4 separate regions of the Homo sapiens genome follow, and regions 1, 2 and 3 are each linked to region 4. The links are contacts of gene promoters, found by promoter capture Hi-C in blood cells and fetal thymus (Javierre and others, 2016). All regions are on one chromosome and are shown on one strand. The core of a region is centred on a gene start or on the middle of the fragment in contact, and the rest is flanking DNA. Distances in the headings are between cores, read along the strand shown.

Region 1 (2,700 bases), core at 194-2,693, 1.3 Mb before region 4:
CAAGTTCTCTTTAGGACTGACAAGCATTTGCTGCATGACCTTTGGCAAAATATTCCATCCTGTCACTCAGAGGTTTGATTGCTCAGAAGTTGTGTTTTCTGGCCTACTGAGAATCACAGGATCTTAGACCTGGCAAGGCCCTTAAAGAGCAGATTCTCTATTTACTGATGAGGAAACTGAGCCCCAAGAGGTGTTATCCTTTGCCCACGGGGACACATGACCCACTAGGAACATGTGTGCCAGCACCCCCAGCCCACCCCAGGACTGCCCCCCCATAGTGAAGCTGAATATGATCAGTTCCTTATGAAGAATTGAGAGACCTTCAAAAGGAAGTACCCTACATCCTGAACTTTTCAGAGAGATGGGTGGTGCAAAATGTTCAAGTGACAACACACGTGGAAAAAAAAAAAAAAAACCAAAGGCATATTTGGATCTTGCAGAAGGGTTTTCAGCAATACAAAGGCACAAGAATGAGAACAGCAGGAGTCCCACTTACCAGGAGCATTCCCTTAAAGCCTCATGTGTGCCTCCTAATAAATCTGCTTTTTCCTTTTTGAAGTTTAAGCGCTCCCTTATTGAGCAGTCTCCTGGTAGCCAGGAGTCCCCTAGGAAACAATTGTCTTGCTTCCAGTGCTGGGGCACTCAGACTCTTGGTTTGGTTTGGTTGGTTGGTTGATGGGTGATTTTTCCCTCCCTCTATCTTCTTAAAACTCCAGCCAGCATATAGGGGTTTTTCGTTTAGCTTCCTCAGATCCCCAGCCATTTCCCTAAAAGTCCATCCCATTAAACATGAAATCCACAGAACACACACCAAGCTACTTTTTCTCTCCCCTAATAAATCAGGTAAATTACCTCTTTTGTTTTTAAGACCATTTCAAGTTCGCCTTTAACATTTTTAGTTAAGGCATTATTTATGTTGTGATTTAATCGAGATTTAATCCACTTCTCAGCACACCATCGTATCGCAATATCCCTGAATTTTTTGCCCATATTATTAAACTTGAGGAGCACGGTAATGTTTTCCTCAGGCATGACACTGATCATTTCCAGATTGTGCATGTCTCTCTGGCTTTTTAACACACCTGAGTTTCTAAGGCCCACTAAAATAAATAACGGTTTGGTCTGCAAAGAACTGGGGCTGCATTAATAAATGCAGAGAGATCTATGTTTATCTCCACTTTCTGAAAACATAAGCGTCTTCTACAAATATGAGTATACACAGCAGAAATCATGTGAATCTCTTGGTAAATGTTTGCCTTCACATCCTGGGGTATGCTGCACACCAGATGGTTTGATCAAAACAAAATCATACACACACACACACACACGCGCACACACACACACACACACACACATGTTTGAGCACCATGCCTCCTCATTTTTGTGACTTTTTTTCTCCTTTCATGCATGAGAAAGAATGTAGAAATACTTAGAATAATGACCAGTATGTTCTGTGTTTACTGCTGCTTTCCCTCACTAGAGATTAACTCATAAAATTTTACTCCAAATTAAACAAACTGAGGCTCTCCTTGCAGCCAGTCAAACTGCCACTTATACCAAAGGAAATCTTAACTTCCATCTCTGAGAGTTTGAACGGCCACCCCTGCGGAAAGATAACAGGGTCTCTCTTTTCCTCTCTGTGTTCTGCGAGTCCTTGGAGGTGCCAAAATACTTGTCTGGACTCTGGCCCCCAGGGCACTTCATCTGCAATTAGAATGGAAACTGTATTTTAGAACATTAACATCTCTCCTGCTGTTTTTTTTTAATGATCTGATTGCTCCAATTATAGTTATTTAGAGAAATCGGACAGTCAAGGATTTTACCAGTAGGTAGGCAAGAAAGCACCTTTGACTGTGGCAGAGGACTTGCAAAGACAATTGTGTCTAGGAAAGACTTAGGAACTGTCTCACCATCCTGTCTTCTCAGCTGAAATTTCTCTGGGGATGATTAGATGTTGTCTTTGAAAAATCCAAATGGGAGAATGTGTATAAAACTACCCCGTTCTGTGCCTTGAGCACAGTAAGTTTTCAATGGACGTTAATTCCGTTGGAATCCCAGGCTTGAGACTGCAATCCAACGATGCATGTAAAAGACCTTGAGAAAGAAAACAAAAAGGCTCAAGGTCATGACCTCACCAGTCTTTTTGTCTTCCTCTCTATATTGCTCGTGTTTCACAGCCTTCAGCCCCAGTAAACAACATTTTTACCTGGAAGGAGCTTAGAGAGGACTTTAATTTTAGAGGGGCATTTACAAAGATCCTCTGATGCAAGCTCCCTGCTTCCTACTGCTAAAAGTCTGCTTCTTTTCAACAGTGCCCGCCTGGAGCCATGGTTGTGTTTTTGTGTGGTCTCATTCCTGTTTTATGGATTGTTCATGTACCCTGGAATCCCTGGGATACTTCAATTACAAAAATTACCATGTGCTGGGTTCCTTTCGGGTTGACAAGACTGCTTTCCTCTCTCTCTAAGCCGGGTTGTGTTTGTTTACATAGGAAATGTACTCTTTCTTAACATTCACTGTTTCAACATCCACTTAGATAGCTTCATTAAAAAATGGGTTAAAAAATAAAGAAGGGTGGCAAGAAAAGGAAAAAAAATACATCTTTCTATTTCAACCAAAAATTTGGTTCAGAACAAACTTGGAAAATCAGAGGATGTTTTTCTTTTCATCGCTGAAACAATGCTCTGCTTGTTCTCCCCG
Region 2 (2,700 bases), core at 30-2,529, 1.3 Mb before region 4:
GGGCATGGGAGCATACATATTCCAGTGGTGTTGAAGAAGGTTGCTTCCAGAATTGATCTAGCTATATTACAATTCGGGCACCATCAAAGAACCATTGGGTATTTTTCATGGCAAGCCTGCCATAAACTCACCCAGTGAGAACTTCTCAGGGCTTTCATTCTCCTGGCGTAAGTGGGTTTTTTCCAAAGCAGACCAACAGCTCTCACTTGAGAACTCAAGTTTTCCAGCTCTCATTTCCCCAGTCTGCCCCAAGCGAGTCAAACAGTGTCAGTACTGTCTCCCGCAGCACCTTGAGGGCTGGTGCCTGTGTTTTCCCGAAATGAGGGTAGACGTGGTTCATGCAGACTGGAGGAGAGTCCCTGAACTCACAAAATGTCTCCTCGGCCTTAATGCTTTCCAAGTTGGGAGATTTATGTTGCAACCTTGAGAAGGGCAGAGTAAATACAGAGCCTGCCAGCTATTTGTTTTCCTGTTGATGAATTCCCCAAATTCAGACTGGAAGCCCTCCAAGAACTGAAGTCTCTTCAAAAGGCAAAGTGTTAACCCTGAATCCTTCAGCTGCTTTTGCCACGTCTTTCTCCCCCACCCAGAAAGCTCCAAAGTATCTCTGAGGTTGTGTTCGCTGTATATGAAGCTCTCCGATGACTCTTCCTTTTTATCACACAAAACAAGCCAGGGCCAAAGACCACGGAGGAAGAAACCAGCTTACCACATGGTGCAGGGATCTTGCAAGAGCTTCTCCTAGTGAGGCTCCCTAGAGCCTCACTCCTACACATTCAGTATAGCTTTCTTTAGTCATGAAAGTGATTCCACTACCTAGTCAAACTTTGCTAGCTTGAAATATTTGCCACATGCTCTATTGCAATTGTGGTTTTCATCTTTAAATCATACATCCTTAATCTTCTCCTTGGAAATGTAACAAATTAGCACCATATTTTTGTTTGTTAGTTTTTCCTGAACATGAACCATACAGTTTATGAACCAATCTAGATAAAATGACCATTTTTAATCCCCAAATCACTCTTTATTTTTAGTGTTTAGTCTCACTGGCTGCTTTTATAATTTAAAAATTTTTAAATATAATCTTTTTTTCTGATTATAAAATTACATCTTATTTATAGAAAACATGGGAAATGGGTATTAAATGTAAAAAATTGTATTTGTAATCTCATTAGTCACAGTTAGGCCTTAACATTTTGGTATACATCTTGTTTCTCTGCTAGTTATTCTATCTGGATGATGACTTTTTTCATTTGATCTTATATAATAAATATTTTCACATTATTTCCATAATTTTTTTTTTTTTAAGACAGGGTCTCATTCTGTCACCCAGGCTAGAGTGCTGTGGCATGATCATGGCTCACTACACCCTTGAGGTGATCCTCTCACCTCAGCCTGCTGAGTAGCTGAGACCACAGGTGTGCACCAACATGCCAGCTAATTTTTGTATTATTTGGTAGAGACAGGGTTTTGCCATGTTGCCCAGGTTGGTCTCAAACTCCTGGGCTCAAGCAATCCACCCACCTCAGCCTCCCAAAGTGCTGGGATTACAGGCATGAGCCACTGCACCCAGAACCACAATGTTCTTAACTAACCTTTTATTGTTGGAATTATAAGTAGCATTCCAGTAAACATATTTCTATGTAAACCTTCGGCTAATATCACATTAATTTCTTAGGATAGATTCCTTTAAGTAGAATTACTGGGTCAAAGTGTAGAAACAGTATTAAGGTTCTCAATACATTTTGCCAAATTGCTTTTTCCAAAGGATGCATATCAGTTTGTGCTCCCACCACAGTGAGTGAGACTGGCTGGCTTGCTGTGCCCTCATCCACATCCAGGATAGCTGTGTTTGCCTCTGGGCCTACACAATAGACACCTCCACTGAAACAGGTGGTGTGGCCCAGGTTTGGGAAGGGCTTAGACTGGGAGTCAGGAGACCTGGCCTTGAATTTGGATTCTCCTATTATGTAGCTCTGTGACATCGCAGAAAACCCTTAGCAGCAAGAATAAAAATTGGGAACAGACTACCAAAATAAGGTAATGAACGTGAAAATGCTCTGTAAATGCAAAATATGAGGACTTATTATGGCAAGGCACCTATCTGTTGCTACTGGTACCTAAATTTCCGTGCTAAAATTAGAAACTGGGTTTATAATGTAAATTATAAACAAAAAATAAAATTTTATGGAAATATTGACTTAAGGTTTCCTTCTTAAATATAAGAGATAGGTGACTTTCTTATTAGCATACTTTCTCCCATCTCTTTCTGAGCTTACCCCCAAAAAATTCTGCAGCATCTGAATCCCAGGTGAGCCTGCCTAACTTTAATATGTGAAATAAAGTTGTATATTGTCTTGGATTATGCAAACTAAGCTGGTAATGAAAAGTGTTTTTTTTTTTTTTATTTTTATGTTTTAGAGACAGGGTCTTGCTCTGTCACTCAGGCTGGAGTGCAGCTGCATGATCATGACTCACTGCAGCCTCAACCTCCCGGGCTAACGTCATCCTTCTGCCTCAGCCTCCCGAATAGCTGGGATTACAGGCATGCACCACAAAATCTGGCTAATCTTTTATTTTTTGTAGAGACAGGATCTTATTATGTTGCCCAGGCTGGTCGACAACTCCTGGGCTCAAGCAATCCTCCCACCTTGATCTCCCAAAGTGCTGGGATAACAGGCATGAGCCACTGCACCCAGC
Region 3 (2,700 bases), core at 102-2,601, 1.2 Mb before region 4:
CAAGAGACAAGCTTAGGGGAAGAAGTGCTTCCTGAACATCACCTGCAGACTAGACTATAGCACTCTTGTGGGATCCCAACAAATACGTCGTCCACCCCGCTCCCAACTATTTAAAGAATATTTGAAAGCACTCGAATTCTTTGGCATAAACACTCTTTGAAATGCAAGTTATGTCGAATCCTAGAATTTTACTTCTGGAAGATGTGGTGGGAGATTATATAAAATGGGGAATCAGTGACCCAGCACCATGGCTTCCCAGCTCCTCTGCACGCCCCCCCATATTTCCCAACCCTTGCATTTGAAATTTAAAATGTTCTTTAAAAAATTAAAGGCTTTCAGTGTTGAGTGATAGTCACGCACTGCATAAGGATATTTCAGTCAACAATGGACCAAATATATGACAGTAGTCGCGTAAGATTATAATGAAGCTGAAAAATTCCTACAGCCTAATGATGTCACAGCTGTCATGTCATAGCATTTTTTTTAAATATAGTGTAGCCTAAGTTTATAATATTTATAAAGTCTACAATAGTGTAACGTCCTAGGCCTTCACATTCACTCACCACTCACTGACTCACCCAGAGCAACTTCTAGTCCCACAAGCTCCATGCATGCTAAGTGTCCCATATGGGTGTAACATTTTTTACATTTTATATTGTATTTTTACTGTACCTTTTGTACGGTTAAATAAATCCTTACCATTGTGTTACATTTGCCTACAGCACTCAGTACAGTACCATCCTGCACAGGTTTGTAGCCCAGGAGCACTAGGCTATGGCATACAGCTTAAGTGTGTGGTAGTCTCTACCACCCAGGTTTAAGAACACTCACTCTGTGATGTTTGCAAAAACAATGAAATCGCCTAACACCACGTTTCTCAGAACCTATCCTCATCATTAAGCAATGCATGACTAAAGTTTCAGCTGCACCTGTTTGGTTCATTCACATAAAGTATCTAAAATAAAGACAGGAGTGCCAAGGCCATGCAAAGTAGGTTGCTAGTGATGGTTTCCTTTGCCCAGCGATCTGGGTTAAATGAACACCACGGCCTCCCCAGCGTTCCTTGTTCTTCCTTCCCTGACGTTTATCACCCTTCTGATTATTTTATATTTGTATTGTCTACCTCTTGCATGAGAAAGACCTCCAAGAGGGCAGGGTTCGGGGCCTATTTTGTTCACTGTTGCATTCGTAACGTCTAGAGTAACACCTGATGCTCGGGAGGTGAAAATACACTGATTGCTAAACGACTGAGGTCTATGAGACCATGCCAGGTTTACAGTAAGCACCCCAAGACTGCCGATTTTCCCAGTTCCTATTCCTGGCATCCTTAGCACCAGAGTAAACCACAGCCCTCCTGCTTGGTTAGTCCTTAACTCACTTGTGGTCACAAACAGGAGAAATGCAAATCACTTAAGCATAGAAGTCAAACCAGACTGAATCATGTCAGGGACTCCAAACCTTGCCTTTCTCTGGAGGTGAGAGATCCTGACCTAATTCCTTTGTATGGATGACTACTCTCCCAGTCAACCGCTCCACTCTTTACCTCCCATTCTCTTACAAAGTTGATTTAAGTTTTCTTAAAATTCAGTATATTCAGACTATCTTGTGGAGATGTACAGACATAAGAACTAGGAAAGAGAATCCTCTTCCTCAAGTAAGCATACCTTACATCTCAAATGAACACAAGACGTACTTGAGTTTGGATCACTTTATTTAACTGCACAGAAATAATTCAGCCATTTTTGGGTAAAGGATTGAGGAACAAAAGCAAAGCAGTCACTGATGGAAAAGTGGGAGAATGGATAATGGCCACACAAAAGAGAACACATGCTGCCTTAGGATCAATACACAGCATTTCTGTGAAAAGCAACTGGTAGGTCCTGCCATTAAGCTCTAACATCAAGCAGCTGAATACTTTCTCCCTCATTGAGCCTTCCTCCATTATCATCCCTCTCCCGATGATAAACCACTGGAATATACCTAAGTAAAAAAAATGGTGGCTTTCTTTACCAAGGGCTTCCCAGAGACACAAGCAACCCCCAGGTTTCTGAAGCATCCCATAAAATACATCAGAAGGCCCTTCCCTTACCTGTCAGCACCACGGGCACAGGAACCATTTCCTTTTTTCCCTACCACCCTGCGTCCTGTGCCTGGCCAAAAGCTCATAAAACCAAAACAGGGCAATGTCCATGGAACAGGACTACAATTTGGTGCCAGTCACTGACCCACTATAGAGAGCAGGCTATTGATAGAAACTCACCAACCCAAACCTCCATTCCACTAGGGATGAGAGAGCAGTCTCTCCACCTAAAGGATCTCCACAGCCCAAAAGCATAAATGTCCCCCTCCCCCAGTGGCTTTCAAAATGCTTTCTTGGAAAAAGTTCTTCCTTTCCATTAATAAAACTTACTTTAAAAAACAAAAGTGAACTGCATCTAAATCGGAAGCAGAATTGAGACTAGATCTCCAAACTCAATCCCTGCAGGCTGTCATTTATCCAGCAGGTCGCTTGAGTAAAAGGACCATTATCTGTGGCTTTTGTACAAATACATTTCCTTCTTTAAGGGTAGAGAGTTTAAATTCCTGCAAGGCACTGCACACTAACACACCCATTAATAAATCTGCAGCTCTCCTGGCTCAGTTTAAGTGAGGCCAGTCTTTCAGTACCTGTTAAGCAACCTTGAAAAGTCCAAAGCTTTA
Region 4 (2,700 bases), core at 162-2,661:
GCCTCTGAGATTTTCATTTAAAAAATTAACCCTGGAGGAAACCCTGGCTCCCAATTTTAAGTGTCTGCAAATGGGCTGGGCATGTCTGGATGCCTTTTCCACGTTTTATGCCTGAGAAGACACTGATTATTTCAGTATTTTTTAAGTAAAAAAGCTGTTCCTTTAAACAGCCTTAGCCCCAAAATAAGAGAGTTACTGAACAATTAGCAGGCGTTGAGTGTTAAGCAGATGTTACTGGTGCCTAGAAAGCGGAGAAAAATCAGAAAACCAAATATTGTCTTCCTTCAGCCCAAAGGTTTGGAGCCAGAATAGTCTGACTTTTTTGTCTGCTTTTATTTTCGAAGTGAAAGAGATTGCGTATGCATAAAGAAATAATAAATGAGTATAATTTAAAGCGGCCCCTTCTCGACTGAGATTTCTGAAACTGTGATCTCTGAAATAAATCCAATGCCCTGGTCCAGAAAATGGCAGGGAGGAGTTGAAGGGAATGGGGTGTGTGGTCCTTTCAGACAGCAGGTCGGTGGCTGTGCAACGAAAGAGTTCCTGGGCCTCCAGTCCAGGCAGGGAAAGGAAACAGCTTTGTGGGCACGAATCTGTAACTGTGTGTGTTGGGAGTAGGGAGAGATAGTTTGTTTTCTGTTTTCTGTAGGGAAAATGGTCAGACTGGCTCCCATCTGTAGACTACAATTTGGAACGATGACTCAAGTTTATATCAATGGCTCTGGAATTTGGGATTCTTTTTGCCCATTTAAAACATACTGGCTCTTGGAAGGGTCCCCTTCTCCAGCACCCAGCTGCACAAAGGTGCTGTATGGAACATATTTTGTACCTAATGGAAGCCACTAGTAAGCAAGCAGTCAAGCTTTGCCCTAGCCAGTCTCCCTCAATGCGGTCAAACCCCAAGCTGTGACCGGCAGGCCGGGAAGAGCCAGCTAAGAGCTTCCCAGCGAATGGCCAGGCTCCAGCGAGGCTGGTTGGGCCTCAGCTCCAGTCCCCAGTGAGGCTGGCGAAGGCCTCCCTGCCCTCGATATGGGCACACAAAGCTGCAGCGAATGTCCCCTAATCAGATCTCCTAGTCAGCCGTTAGCGACAGGCGAAGAAACGCAAGGCTGCCGCCATCCGGTCGTGATCATAACCGAGGCCTTGTCTGCAGAGTAACACACCAGGCCCAAACCCACCGCCCTCGGCAGCCGCCCCACGCGGGCCCTTCCTCGGCAGACTTCCCAACCTCTACTTGAGCCGCAGAGGAAAGTGAGACCCCCTAGGCTCTCCTGAAGCCAGCTCTGGGCCCCTCCCCAAGGATGCTTTGGGAAGGAGATAAGGAGGTGAGATAGAATCTGGCAGAGACGGAAGATGAAAAAAAGACCAACGGAAGAAAAGAAAGCAGGAAGGAGCAAAGGAAAGAAGAAAAAAAGAAAGAAGAGATAAAAGAGGAAGGGAAGACAGGGAAAAGAAGGAAGAAAAGAGAGGCGACTCCTAGCAGCGGCCGAGCTTACAGAGAGAAGGGTAAGTGACAAGGCCAGGATCCCAGCCTGCCCTATCCTTCCTAGTCCAGCCTGAGTCTCCACTGGAAGGAGGTTCTTTCCTGAGCTCACACCCGGGACTGGTGTGTGTGTGTGTGTGTGTGTGTGTGTGTGTGTGTGTGTTCCAGCCTTACAAGAGAATGGCAGGAGGTCCCTGGGCAGGCGCAGGCCTCCAGTGGGAGGCTCAGGATGGAAGCGGGCGCCCCTGACCTTGAATGGCCCAAAGCCCAGAATTCCTACCACGCCCCCGGCGTCCGCGAAGGAGCAGCCAACCTAACCCTACCTGCTGTGACCAGGTGGAGGTGTGTGGTGGAAGGGGAAAGCCGGCCGGCTGGCAAAGCGCTGCGGAGAAAGACACGAGGCTCCTGAGCAGGGAAAGCCGAGGTTGCCACCGCAGGCCTGGCACGACCAGGGCCGTGATGCCCCGCCCGGCCCGACCCCCGCGCGCAGAGGTACCTGGAGACGATTTCAACTGAAGTAATGAAGGCAGTGTCGTGCTGTCGAGAGAAAGGTGGATCCCAACAACAGGAAACTACCTAAATCACCGACCAGTTCTGGTGCTGCCCGCGAAGGGCTGCCTCGCCCGCCGCCGCCGCCGCCTCCGCCGCTGCCGCCGCCGCCAAGGAGAGAACCCTGCCATCGCGCCTGGCCCGGCCCAGCCCAGCCCCTAGGCAACCTGCGCCCGCCAGTGCAACAGAGTGCCCCAGGCGGCCGCAAATGCGTCAAGGAAGGGGAAGCCACAGGCCCCAGTAAGGTATTCCTGGGAGGGAGAGGGAGGAAAAGAGAGGGAGGAAAGGCAGGGAGAGAGGAATAAAGGCGGGGAGCAGGCGAGACGAGAGCAGCTCCGAGAAGCAGTGTGCGCGCCGCTTTCCCAAATCTTGCAGCCCAGCGAGCCGGCGCCAAGAGGCGGTAGCCGTGGAAGGCTCGAAAGCGCCAGGGACGGTACAGATCCCGGCTCCCTGTCTGGCCCCGGCCTCCCGCCTCTCGCTCTCCCCCTCTCCCTCCTAGCTGCCCGCCCGCCGGGGCGCGCGCTCCTGCGCCCCCTCCCCTTAGCCCCCGCCCCCCCCACTCTGGCAAGCAGGAAACGCGTGGCCCTAAGGAGTGCCGCCAGGTGGGGGAGGCCGTACTGGGGGAGGGGGAGGCCCCCATGCAGTCCAGCCCGGGTCCACCTAACCGC

The links. Contacts are between HindIII fragments. The CHiCAGO score rates a contact against its expected background, and 5 or more counts as called.
Region 1: a fragment that was not itself captured here is called in contact with the fragment with the promoter of HOXA10-AS in region 4 in 1 of 17 cell types (naive B cells); the score reaches 8.1 in naive B cells.
Region 2: a fragment that was not itself captured here is called in contact with the fragment with the promoter of HOXA10-AS in region 4 in 12 of 17 cell types (M1 macrophages, monocytes, fetal thymus and 9 more); the score reaches 10.6 in M1 macrophages.
Region 3: a contact is called between a fragment that was not itself captured here and the fragment with the promoter of HOXA10-AS in region 4, in 1 of 17 cell types (fetal thymus). The highest score is 5.3, in fetal thymus.

The regions. Positions count from the first base shown.
Region 1 is chr7:25,829,856-25,832,555 of GRCh38, forward strand. LOC100506236 (a long non-coding RNA gene) reads right to left here. Exons shown (of 3, transcript XR_108752.5): 2 at 1,911-2,094; 3 at 1,436-1,704. Among named protein-coding and RNA genes, the nearest start is that of LINC03007, 41 kb to the left of the region's middle. RefSeq lists an enhancer at 245-817. The HindIII fragment of the contact is 4,145 bases long and covers 1-2,700 here.
Region 2 is chr7:25,896,991-25,899,690 of GRCh38, forward strand. No RefSeq gene overlaps it. Among named protein-coding and RNA genes, the nearest start is that of MIR148A, 52 kb to the right of the region's middle. The HindIII fragment of the contact is 3,378 bases long and covers 1-2,700 here.
Region 3 is chr7:25,946,964-25,949,663 of GRCh38, forward strand. The region is part of intron 6 of LOC105375199 (a long non-coding RNA gene); the gene reads right to left. Among named protein-coding and RNA genes, the nearest start is that of MIR148A, 1.7 kb to the right of the region's middle. RefSeq lists an enhancer at 1,064-1,133. The HindIII fragment of the contact is 2,684 bases long and covers 10-2,693 here.
Region 4 is chr7:27,167,488-27,170,187 of GRCh38, forward strand. It overlaps HOXA10-AS (HOXA10 antisense RNA), which reads left to right and starts at 1,412. Exons shown (of 3, transcript NR_046609.1): 1 at 1,412-1,506; 2 at 1,820-2,277. The region is part of intron 1 of HOXA10-HOXA9 (HOXA10-HOXA9 readthrough); the gene reads right to left. It overlaps MIR196B (microRNA 196b), which reads right to left and starts at 2,076; the gene lies at 1,993-2,076. RefSeq lists enhancers at 1,097-1,687, 1,688-2,278. The HindIII fragment of the contact is 2,254 bases long and covers 861-2,700 here.